Regions from separate parts of the Homo sapiens genome. Here all the other regions are linked to region 1. The links are contacts of gene promoters, found by promoter capture Hi-C in blood cells and fetal thymus (Javierre and others, 2016). All regions are on one chromosome and are shown on one strand. The core of a region is centred on a gene start or on the middle of the fragment in contact, and the rest is flanking DNA. Distances in the headings are between cores, read along the strand shown.

What was found. The method cuts DNA at HindIII sites, captures the fragments that hold promoters and counts their contacts. A CHiCAGO score of 5 or more calls a contact.
Region 2: a fragment that was not itself captured here is called in contact with the fragment with the promoter of NCEH1 in region 1 in 1 of 17 cell types (monocytes); the score reaches 5.1 in monocytes.
Region 3: a fragment that was not itself captured here is called in contact with the fragment with the promoter of NCEH1 in region 1 in 1 of 17 cell types (monocytes); the score reaches 5.7 in monocytes.

What each region holds. Positions count from the first base shown.
Region 1 is chr3:172,708,177-172,712,369 of GRCh38, forward strand. NCEH1 (neutral cholesterol ester hydrolase 1) reads right to left here and starts at 2,891. Exons shown (of 5, transcript NM_020792.6): 1 at 2,671-2,891. The coding sequence starts at 2,808. RefSeq lists enhancers at 2,343-3,542, 2,672-2,941, 2,863-3,157, 3,202-3,341. The HindIII fragment of the contact is 17,687 bases long and covers 1,010-4,193 here.
Region 2 is chr3:172,380,139-172,384,393 of GRCh38, forward strand. FNDC3B (fibronectin type III domain containing 3B) reads left to right here. Exons shown (of 26, transcript NM_022763.4): 25 at 828-955. Among named protein-coding and RNA genes, the nearest start is that of GHSR, 66 kb to the right of the region's middle. The HindIII fragment of the contact is 8,032 bases long and covers 1-4,255 here.
Region 3 is chr3:172,342,692-172,346,760 of GRCh38, forward strand. It overlaps FNDC3B (fibronectin type III domain containing 3B), which reads left to right. Exons shown (of 26, transcript NM_022763.4): 18 at 320-425; 19 at 1,395-1,567; 20 at 3,636-3,749. Among named protein-coding and RNA genes, the nearest start is that of GHSR, 100 kb to the right of the region's middle. The HindIII fragment of the contact is 3,052 bases long and covers 507-3,558 here.

The DNA.
Region 1 (4,193 bases), core at 1,641-4,140:
ATTTGCCAATGACAACAGAATAAACTAACATTCACATTTCTTAATGGTAGGCAGCTGATGCTGTCTTAGGAAATAGGCTGAGCTTAATCTCTCAAACAGCTTAAATTGCTTTTGTAGTTGAGCCAATCAACTCAAACTAAAATTATCTGAGTAACGAGGTTGACACCATGCAATTTATTTATTTATATATTTTTTTGAGACAGAGTTTCACTCTTGTTGCCCAGGCTGGAGTGCAGTGGCACAATCTCGACTCAACGCAACCTCCGCCTCCCAGGTTCAAGCGATTCTCCTGCCTCAGCCTCCCAAGTAGCTGGGACTACAGGCACCTGCCACCAGCCCTGGCTAATTTTTTGTATTTTTAGTAGAAAGAGGTTTCACTATGTTGGCCAGGCTGCTGGTCTCGAACTCCTGACCTCGTGATCCACCCGCCTCGGCCTCCCAAAGTGCTGGGATTACAGCGTGAGCCACCGCCCCAGGCCATGACACCAGGTAATTTAGTAGTAGCACTCCAGGTTTCAATCACATAAATTACTTCCAGTTTACATTTATTTTATTGCTTCAAAAAAGGTAAGCATTCTTATAGATGTTCCCACAATCCACAATGGACCCTTGGGGACAACTAGAAGACTCACTACAAGTACCAGGCACTTAAATACATTACTAAACCTTATAGCAAACCTACAAGGTAGTTTTTTGCCCTATTTTACAGGGAAAACTCAGGAAGATTTGAGGTGACACTGGAAAATTGCTTTATTGGGTAGAATATGTTTCCATCTGATCATAATGATCTTTCTGATATTTCACAATTTAGAGGAGAAGTGATAAGAGCCATTTTTCTGCAAATCCACTCCTGAGCCACAGTGTCAGGTGAGAACACTGGTTACCTCATCTATTGCTGACTTCAGGTTACACCCACTATCATTCCCAAGCACCACCTGAGGGTATACTCTGTGGAGGACCTTACACAGCCTTGTCCTTAATGGGCTGGCAAGCCTAGCTGGGAAAGAAAAGCTTTTCTCCAAACCTAGCTTGTCCGAGATTAACTTATGATGGAGAAGACTTCTTTGGTGACCTGAAAACTAAGAATAATCTCTGCAGCCAACACAGCAGTTTGATCTTTTTCCTGTTTTCCTCTGTTTAAGTTATTGTAGTAGACCATTAACCCACCCAGGTAAACATCACTGTTCCTCAATCTTTGAAGGGTATTACTTTCAAATTACATAATTTCATGGGGGAGGAGAGGGAATGCAAGGCTTCCTACAACAAGACTGACTTTCTTGACACCAGTGCTAAAGAAGGGGATGATCATTTTCACCATGTCAACATTATAGGAAGCAAGAGGAAAAGAAGGGGGGCAGGGGTCTATAGCTTCATAGACCTTTCCTAAGAGACAAAAGGGGCTTTGGAGGTGAGAATGTGGCTGAATTCAGGAAAAGCAAATCCACGCTAGGAATGTGCTGCAATATCCTAGTAAGGGGACTTTTCATAGGATAAAGCCCCACAGATTATGTAATCCTACACATAATGAGTGGACAGGGAACAGGAACATAAACCCTCTGGGAAAATCATGACTTTTTTAAAATCAGCTTTCTCAGGTTGAAATGATTTTTTTTCTCTTTCTCTAGTTGTCATTTCTGAAAGAAAGAGTTTATAAAAATATTCTGAGATTAAAGCCCAAGGTTGTGGGGAGGGAGGAGGCTTGGTTTTGGAGAAGGTTAGAGTTTAGATAGAGCAGGCTGCTCAGAAATACTGTCCAATCAGAGGGCTCAGCCTTGGCTGCAGACTGTAGTTTAGATTTTAGATTCTCTGACACTAAAAATAATGCCTCTTACCATGGAATAAACCAGAGACAGTTATATTTTCCTGTGTATGGAAGGAATGAACACACGCCCATGATACAGTGGAGAGAAATGTTACCCTCCCAGGTTAAGGCAGGTAACCTCGCTCAGGAAAAGGTTATCTGACAGCCAAGGACATAAAATAAATGCTGCAGGGCAAGCAGAAAACATGCATCATGCAAACCAGGGCTGCCGCCTCCTCACCTCCTTTCAGCCAGCCCAGCCTCCCAGTCCTCTTTCTTGGGCTGAGCTGAGATCTGCCTCGGGTGAAACGAGAGATCCCTATGGTTCCTCAAGTGCTTGGATGGAGAGCCCTGCCTGCTGTCTCCGGGAACGGAGCGCTCCACAGCCTGGGGACATTGCGAGACTGCCCTTGCCTGCTTCTGCTTCTAAGGTGGCTGCATTCCCAGGAACCAGAGCCTGCTTTTCCCGAGCTCTCCTAAAAATATTTATCCTCTGCCGGTCCCTATGGGAGAACGACAGTGTGAAGAAGGGTGGTTTATAAACTGCTTAAGGATTTGCCTTTTGACGTTGCAAACCAAGGAAGAGGAAGATATTTAGGACAGACGAAGGTTTAAACAGTTGTCAAATTCTATTCAAGCACTTCTTCCCCGTCACAAACGCAGACGGGGAAATGCAGATCTAGCCCGCTGCTAGCAAGGAGGCGAATGCGATACCCTGAAAATTCCCGACTGGACCACCTCAAAAAGCGACAGCCTCAATGCATTAGGAAAAACCTGCGTTTTCGTGGAACCCGGCGGAGGAATTTTGTATCCCCTTCAAATATTGCGTAAGAGGAGGAAGAGAGAAGCAGCGCTGGGCTGCACCTCACCACTTGCTGTGCACCCCGGAAAGTGGCGTCCAGCAGCATCAGCTTCCAGGGGTCGGACACGGAGCCAGGCAGCGGGATGTAGACGTAATAGGCGGCCAGCGCCACCAGGGCGGTGAGCAGGACACAGGACGACCTCATCTTGCCCTGGCTCGGCTCGCCAGCGGGCTGGCAAAGAGGAAAGGGCGATACCACCCGGAGACCTCCGGCAACTTTCTGCCCGCGGCAGCTGCTCATTCACGCGTTTCTTATAAGCCCAGGAGCCAATCAGAGGCTGCGTCGGGAGGAAGTTGGAGCGCGGACATGCCCCCTCTACGGTGTCCTTGCAAAGTGTGGCAGTCACTACAGGTTTGAGGAAGGCTCTGTCGCTGCTCTGGCCGTAGGCACAGCGGACTCTGGAGGACACTGGTTTGTACTGCATGCGTGTGAGGATGGCTTTCCTCCTGGAAGGTCTCAAACGGAAAATAGTTTCAGTGTGACGAGTCTCTGGACAAAGCAAGTGGGTCATTCTGACTCAGAGTACTGAGAAAGGATATAAAAATTCTGTTTTCTGGAGCCAGACTTGGAGTGGTTTGTAAGTTCTAGCTGATATATGGCAAAAGAAGATATTAAATTCTTCTGGCTCAAGCAATGAAAGGCCAGTAGTACATCTAGCACCCAAGTCTTGGTTTCTAAATCCTATGCTCCAATAAGAGGAACCACGGCTTTTTGACACAACCTCTGGAGAAAAGGCTGATACCAGGGCTGGGGCTGTAAAGTACAAGATGAACCTGTTGTGCCAGAGATGCGGAAGTGCTCAAAAAATGATAGGAACTGGTCAAAGGTCCACAGCTGCCAGCTTGAAGGGTCTCCCAGTGGCTGAAGCTGGGATAATTTTACCATCAATATAAATCATCATAATGGATAACCCATTGATTAAAATAAAACTCAACAATCTATATTAATATAAATAAATGAGGAAAGAAGAAAGGCTTTTCTTAAAATAGAATGCCAGCTAGTATCCATAGAAAATCATAAATGAATGCTAAAACTAGAGGGTAAAAATTTGACACAGAATTTTGGTCCTTCATCAGAAGATCTCTCCACAAATTACTACAAAGGGAAAAAATAATAACTTTTTATTGGAGAAACGTGTGGATATCACCTGAAAAATTCTTTCAGTGAGTCAATGGTAGCAGAAATACACTTAAACCCAGATTTCTTGTTAATGATTGGGGGTGAGGAGGGGTGGGTGAGTACTGAATGGGAGAGAGAAAACTTCACTAGCAAAATTTCAACCAGAAATCCAGAAGGAAAACAGTTAGAAGACCTGTTTCAAGAAAGTGGTAGGATGACAACTCCAAACTTATTGATGAAGGTCTTAAAACACCTAGTATATATAATTATGCATCTTAAGATGGTAATTTTAATTTAATCAAATTAATAGAAGTGAAATAACCATAAATTTGGTTCTGATAATGAGATTTTTAGGAAACAGTTGGCTTCTTCTTCAACATTGAAGGAAAACTGATAAGAAGGGCACACTT
Region 2 (4,255 bases), core at 740-3,239, 330 kb before region 1:
AACTGTCTCTAAAGAATTAGTTGCATGTAATTAGGGATTAAAGTATAAGGGGGTTCAGACAGGAGATATACATTCTAGTTACAAAATAGGAAAATGTCCTATTGAATCAAGCTGTAGAGATAGAAGTTATGAAAATATTTTTTAAATCTAGAATATTTTAAGTGCCTTACTGCAGACTAATATAATTTAGCTTTAAATGAGAATGAGGAGTTCAGGAGGTGAAAAATAAAATATATATAAATATAATTTAATTTTTAAAGGCTTTCAATGCTGCCCATTCCCCAGGACTGTTCTCACATGTCACCTGCTCCTCAAACTTTCCTTAGACCCTCACCCAGGTATGCTCTTTTCCTCCTCTGGAAATTCCCAACGTTTTGTTTGTACCTCTCATTTTTATTCCCTGATGTTTCTTTTTGTATGCGTCTCATACCTTGCTCTCCCCTTCCTTCAACTAACTCTTAAGTTTCTTGAAAACAGGGTTTACCTTGCCTGTTTTTGCATCTTCCAGAATACCTAGGACAGGGCCTAAGCCATAGAGGATACTCAATTGCCATAGGAGAAAAAAAGATGTGATCCACATCAAGCTGTTATTAATGGGATAATGGGCAAAGGATTTTTCATCAATGGCTTTTTAGTCATGGAGTAACTTCTCTGTGCCTAAAGGGCACCCTGCTGGTTTTATGAGAGGCTGGGCAAATCAGCTCCTCTCTCAGGGCAAACACAGGCACAATCTTGCTCTCTCTGGGTTCTCACTAATAGTGCTAAAGTGTTGACTATTAACATGATACTTTGAATTTTGAGCTTGGATGTGTGGATTTGTATTTCAGCACCTCGAGTAACACAGTTAGAAGGAAATTCATGTGAAATTTTATGGGAGACGGTACCATCAATGAAAGGTGACCCTGTTAACTACATTCTGCAGGTATTGGTTGGAAGAGAATCTGAGTACAAACAGGTAAGAACCAGTGTGCATGGCACATGTGCAACTGAGTATGGCTGGCTCCATGCCTCTGCTTATTGCTATGAATGACTCAGTGAACTATGTTTTTCTTAAAATCAGTGATAGAAACTGCCTAACTTGTACTTATTGTATAATTCTTCAGAGTGGGTGAAACCTAGTTTACATTTCATTTTATATATGGTGGTATTCATCTTCAATTTTCAGTTCTCAAGCATATGTTTGTCTTAAAGAGTTGTAAATCGTTTATTTGTATTTGACATTGATGGTGAGGTTTGCAAGCATCAAAGTCAGTATGTAATTGAAAACTAAAGTGCCTGTGATTTTACTATAGAGGGAAGTAGTCTCTTTTTTTGTTGTTGTTAGTATTGATCTTTTTTTTTTTTCATTATACTTTAAGTTCTGGGATACATGTGTAGAATATGCAGGTTTGTTACATAGGTATACATGTGCCATGGTAGTTTGCTGCGCCCATCAACCTGTCATCTACATTAGGTATTTCTCCTAATGCTATCCCTCCCCTTGCCCCCCACCCCCTGACAGGCCCCAGTGTGTGATGTTCCCCTCCCTGTGCCCATATGTTCTCATTGTTCAACTCCCACTTATGAGTGAGAACCTGCGGTGTTTGGTTTTCTGTTCCTGTGTCAGTTTGCCAAGAATGATGGTTTCCACTTCATCCATGTCCCTACAAAGGACATGAACTCGTTCTTTTTTTATGGCTGCACAGTATTCCATGGTGTATATGTGCCACATTTTCTTTATCCAGTCTAACATTGATGGGCATTTGGGTTGGTTCCAAGTCTTTGCTATTGTGAATAGTGCTGCAATAAACATACATGTGCATGTGTCTTTATAGTAGAAGGATTTATAATCCTTTGGGTATATACCCAGTAATGGGATTGCTGGGTCAAATGGTATTTCTGGTTCTAGATCCTTGAGGAATTGCCACACTGTCTTCCACAATGGTTGAACTAATTTACACTCCCACCAACGGTGTAAAAGTGTTCCTATTTCCCCACATCCTCTCCAGCATCTGTTGTTTCCTGACTTTTTAAATGATTGCCATTCTAACTGGCGTGAAATGGTATCTCATAGTAGTTTTGATTTGCATTTCTCTAATGACAAGTGATGACGAGCTTTTTTTCATATGTTTGTTGGCCACATAAATATCTTCTTTTGAGAAGTGTCTGTTCATATCCTTCACCCACTTTTTGATGGGGTGGTTTTTTTCTTGTAAATTTGTGTAAGGTCCTTGTAGGTGCTAGATATTAGGCCTTTGTCAGATGGATAGATTGCAAAATTTTTCTCCCATTCTGAAGGTTGCCTGTTCACTCTGATGATAGTTTCTTTGCTGTGCAGAAGCTCTTTAGTTTAATTAGATCCCATTTGTCAATTTTGGCTTTTGTTGCCATTGCTTTTGGTGTTTTAGTCATGAAGTCTTTACCCATGCCTATGTTCCGAATGGTATTGCCTAGGTTTTCTTCTACGGTTTTTATGATTTTAGGTCTTACATTTAAATCTTTAATCCATCTTGAGTTAATTTTTGTATAAGGGGTAAGGAAGGGGTCCACTTTCAGTTTTCTGTATATAGCTAGCCAGTTTTTCCAACACCATTTGTTAAATAGGGAATCCTTTCCCCATTTCTTGTTTTTGTCAGGTTTGTCAAAGATCAGATGGTTGTAGATGTGTGGTGGTATTTCTGAGCCCTCTGTTATGTTCCATTGGTCTATATATCTGTTTTGGTACCAGTACTATGCTGTTTTGGTTACTGTAGCCTTGTAATATAGTTTGAAGTCAGGTAGCATGATGCCTCCAGCTTTGTTCTTTTTGCTTAGGATTGTCTTGGCTATACACACTCTTTTTTGGTTCCATATGAAACTTAAAGTAGGTTTTTTCTGATTCTGTGAAGAAAGTCAGTGGTAACTTGATGGGAATAGCATTGAATCTATAAATTACTTTGGGCAGTATGGCCATTTTCACGATATTGATTCTTCCTATCCACGAGCATGGAATGTTTTTCCATTTGTTTGTGTCCTCTCTTATTTTCTTGAGCAGTGGTTTGTAGTTCTCCCTGAAGAGGTCCTTCACATCCCTTGTAAGTTGTATTCCTAGGTATTTTATTCTCTTTGTAGCAATTGTGAATGGGAGTTTGCTCATGATTTGGCTGTTTGTCTATTATTGGTGTATAGGAATGCTTGTGATTTTTGCACATTGATTTGGTATCCTGAGATTTTGCTGAAGTTGCTTATCAACTTAAGGAGTTTTTGGACTGAGATGATGGGGTTTTCTAAACGTACAATCATGTCATCGAGGAGAAGTAGTCTTAACCTAACTACTGAAGCCTACATTCTGTCTACCTTTTTTGTAGAACTAATGGAAGGTTAAGGGAGATGATGCATAGGCCCTGGAGGCCTGTGATTCAGAAGCTCTAAGTCATGCATGTCACCTTTTAATGTCAAAGGAATCACCCGGGAATCTGTTAAAATGCAGATTCTGACCTGGTAGGTCTTGGGTGGAGATTCACCCTCCCAGGTGACACTGACATTGCTGGTCCATGGACCATAATTTGAGTAGCAAGGCTCTGTAAATCACATAATAAACCCACATAAGAGAGAATGCATTTGGAATATAGCCAGATAAGAAATTAGTTTTATCATGTTTCATAGCCCTTGTTGATTCTTAATTCTTCCAAAGAAGAATCAGATCAATGACTCTGAAGGATTTAGATACTCTATAGGCTTTCATAATAGTCCCTAGAACTTGTTTTTGTCAAATCAGGATATAATATTATGTATTCCATTAGGAAAGCTGAGGTGCATTCTTCGTCAGCACTTTTAATAGGAGCGTTCATTTATATCAAACATAAAGATGAAAATAAATGCCACCTGTTCTCTGAAACAGTAGCATAATTTATAAAAAAAACTTTGTTCAGTTCCAAATACACAAGTAGAAAATCATTTGATTCAGAGTTTCTGTTAAATTTCTCATTGGTGTTTGCTATATGATAATAAAGAATATTGGCAAATAAAATGTTTTTAAAAAAAGGTAATTTTGGACATTTTGCTGTACTTTGTTAATATGATGTATCAGATAAAAGATTTAATTGTTTTAAACAAAAAACTTTATCCTAAATATGACATCTACCAGTGTCGATTAACATCAGCGGATGATGTCACCAAAGTTTCCATCATTCCTCTTAAATAAGAACAAAGACACTATGGTTCCTTTTATTTTTGAATCTCATTTTATACGATATATTCCATTTCAGAGTAAATAACTTACATGCGTAATTGTTTC
Region 3 (4,069 bases), core at 783-3,282, 370 kb before region 1:
TCTTTCTAATTTTGATTTGAAGGAAAAGAATTGTGTGCTTAGGATATACAGTACTCATGTCTGCTAATCTAACTTCAAAAATAATCATTCTTGTTTTTCCCAGTGCCATATGAAGTCTATAGCCACCCTTAAAACACACACACATAAATTTATATGAAGATCTTAATTACATTAAAAGCATACCATAATGTGCACACATTTAGTGTGTAACCCCTTTTCGGTAACATTTGCAGTTATGGGGTGGAATTTGCCTGATATGTAGAGGTCTGATAAATTCACAGTAACTAAGAGATGGTTCTCTCTGGTGTTTCTCCTGCAGTGTTCTGAAAGTCTCCCTGTTCGCACACTAAGCATTGCACCAGGTCAATGTCGACCACCGAGGGTTTTGGGTAGACCAAAGCACAAAGAAGTCCACTTAGAGTGGGGTGAGTGAACTAACCTTCACATTGACATTGACAATTTGGACAATTGGAGATGAAGACTTATGCTTTGTAGTTAAGTTTCAAAGCTTTCTTCTAAAGACCATATACGTTTTTGTCTGTTGAGGATGTCCATATTCTTCTTGAAGTATGTTGACCCAGGTTTTTTATGTGTGTCATTCCCCCCATCCACACCCGCAACACTGTCCCTCACCTTCCTCTTCCTGATGGTGCCACACACATGGTTTATCCCCCGCACTTCAGGGGACACATTTCTAGGGAGTATTTCAAGAACAGCCAGTCTTTTTCAGAAAGTTTTCAACTTTATTCATGGGAAAAAAATTTTGTGCTCCATTTAGAATTTAAACCAAAGAATGGTTTATAAGATCACATGGAATTCTTTCTCGTCTTTGTTTGCAACCACCTCTGCTGCATTGTCCTGTGTGGGTCCTGATGTTTTTACAGCATTGATTTAAGCTGTATTAGCGTTTCCTGTTGTGTCCAGCAGTTTACAACATGTATAATTACAAGTACAAATGTACAGAACTCTCTAGCAGACTATTTTTTCCTACCACTTATGTCTAAAGTATAATAAATTGTGCCAATTTGGGGTCCTGTATTTTGATTTAGCATGACCTTTGGTTTCCAATTAAAGAGATTTTTCTTCCCTCTTTTTCTTCCATTTACCTAGCATTAGAATATGAAGAAATATATCTAATGTTCCTATAATTTTGGGATTATTTTATCAATGTAATTAAATAAACTTCAGTGGACCCGCTTTGGAGAGTATGGATAACATCATTCAGAAACTTTTATTTTTATATCTCTTTTTTGGTGGGCATGGATTCTTTTGTAAGGGAGATACTGAGGCCGGCCACCTATGTGATATTTTGCTCAACTTGTGTGAAATCTGGTGCACTTTGGTCAACTGGAAGCACAAAGTGTTCTAAGATGAAAAAAATTCTTCATTCCCAGATGTTCCTGCATCGGAAAGTGGCTGTGAGGTCTCAGAGTACAGCGTGGAGATGACGGAGCCCGAAGACGTAGCCTCGGAAGTGTACCATGGCCCAGAGCTGGAGTGCACCGTCGGCAACCTGCTTCCTGGAACCGTGTATCGCTTCCGGGTGAGGGCTCTGAATGATGGAGGGGTGAGTATAAGCCCATACACCATAACCAGAATCAGAATGCATAATCAGAACCCAAAGTGCTAGCACTTCTGTCTCTAGCCTCCTGAAATTTTTGACAGTCTTGATGCAACCTTGACAACCATTAATGCAGTGTCTGTAAATCTTAATTCTGAGTTGATATTGTTGTGATTTCATATAGACCCAGCATTAGAAGTTTTCTGTTTCTTTTGTCCTCATATCATTCTATGAAGACAGCACTCAAGGTTAATAAGGATATCACCCTGTAGATATTTTCGACAGTTTTTGGAAAATTTCCTATTCTATTGACTTTATCAGTTCAGGGAAATTAGGATTAGATAATAGTTCTAATAAAAGTTTTATACTGTCTTGTCTAAATGAACCAGCAACATCTTAGGTCAGTTTTTACAACTAGAGAAGGGTAGTGGCCAGGGACACCAGCTTGTTTTTGTTTTGTTTCACGTGAAAACTACAGGACTCTCTCCTTCTATTGCTCCATTTGGAGTTGTCAAGTTGAGCTATCAAAAATTGAGAATATATATGTCTATGTTATATCCATAAAGGTTGTTGTCCTTTTTTTCTTTGAAATTGCCAAATGATGTGGATTTAGGGGGAGATGAATAATGAGCAGTGGGAGTCCCAGTAACTGTGAGGCTTTTGGGTGGGCTCAGAGATTGATGAAGCATAAAAGGGCAGAAGCGTGTGGGTAAAGCCAGCTAAATGCCCCGTCCAAAGTGCCAGTGGTTTGTGTAGATGGGCTCCATGCAAATAAATAGAATTAATTAATTGATGATTTTTTAAAAAAATAAGACAGCCCAACTTGCAGTGACTTTTTGTTTTAAGTGAAAGCAAGTTTATTAAGAAAGTAAAGGAATAAAAGAAGGGCTATTCCTTAGGCAGAGTGCCCAAAACTGGATTTCTCCTAATTCTCCAATAGAAAAGAATTTCAGACACAACAATGATACTTAAGTGAAAACAAAAAAGTCTGAACATTAACGCCTATGTACCTGAACTTATAATCATGTAAGCGAAAAGAAGATGGATAGTGATGAGCACACTGTTGTGTCTACCCCATTCTCTCATCAACTTTTCAGTTACTATCTGCCACAACAAAGATAAATGTGCAACTGGGCTGGTGTGAGCTGTACTTTTCTCAGCCCTTTCACTGATTTATCCTATAAAGAAACTATCTTCAGCTTGGGTTTATTCCTGTTGTATTAGAAATTAACCATATATATCGCTGTAGTCACCTTCTGAGGTCCATTTCAGAGAGCTTCCCCAACTCCCCAGCATCTTTGCATGTTATGTTGAGAGGTGGTTTTTTGTTTCCCCCCTCCCCGCCGTCTTTTTTCTCTCATTTTGACAAGGACAGTCATATATTTTGTTAGCCTGGCAAGTTTTTACTCTGCTCCAAACCTTTGAAGTATCAAATATGCCACCATTAAAATGGGTGGTTCAGGTGGCTGTGACTCTCTCAAAGTGTGGTAAGTCTCTAGCAATTCCTGGCTCTGAGCAGTGTGGTCACTGATGGTAACATCAGGATTGCCGTGGATACCCTTGAATAGGTGAGGTGATGGGAACACACTGAGAAAACATTACAGAAGCATTTATTTTCAAAATGGAAAATACCGGTAACTAGAAGAAATACCTAGAATTTGATCACCAACAATTCCAAGTATATTTTTATTCATTAAAAATTAAACTGCAGTGGGCATCTGACTTAGTTTTCTTGGATGTCCTCTGAGAAATATGAAAGCAGATTGCCCTGTTTTGTCAAAAATCAGCATATTTTTATTTCATGTCCCAAGAAAGGGAAAATATTTTGTCAACCAACTAATTATTTTACAATTAAAAAAATGACAGACATCTACTACTCAGGGACTGTATATAGGAGAAAAACTTACACACATTGAATTGAAAGTGAAAATCATTGGGTAATATTTGTTAATTAGTTGTGTTGATGATGATGTTAGCCTAGCTTTTATTTGGTTATAAGCTTTTGTATGCACACACATTCACAAACACATACACGCATATATACATACGTGTGTGTGCGTGTGTTTTCTTTCAGTATGGTCCCTATTCTGATGTCTCAGAAATTACCACTGCTGCAGGGCCTCCTGGACAATGCAAAGCACCTTGTATTTCTTGTACACCTGATGGATGTGTCTTAGTGGGTTGGGAGGTAAGTCAGGCATATTCTGCATCAACTTCTGTTTCTTCTACTTTACTCCCAAATACAAATACCAATTATAAGGAAGCTGCAAATCCAAAATGCACATATAGATGATTTTTTTTTTTTTTTTGCTCTGTGTACTATAGTAATCACCCTTGGCACTTGCCACTTGCTTATATTATTTAGGGTTGTGGAAGTTTTACTGTAGTCAAAACTGAGAGGAAATGGTTTCTCATGCCTTTCTTTTTGTAAAAAATTTTATTTTATTTTACTTATTTTATTTTTTTGTGTGACAGAGTTTCAATCTTGTCACCCAGGCTGGAGGGCAG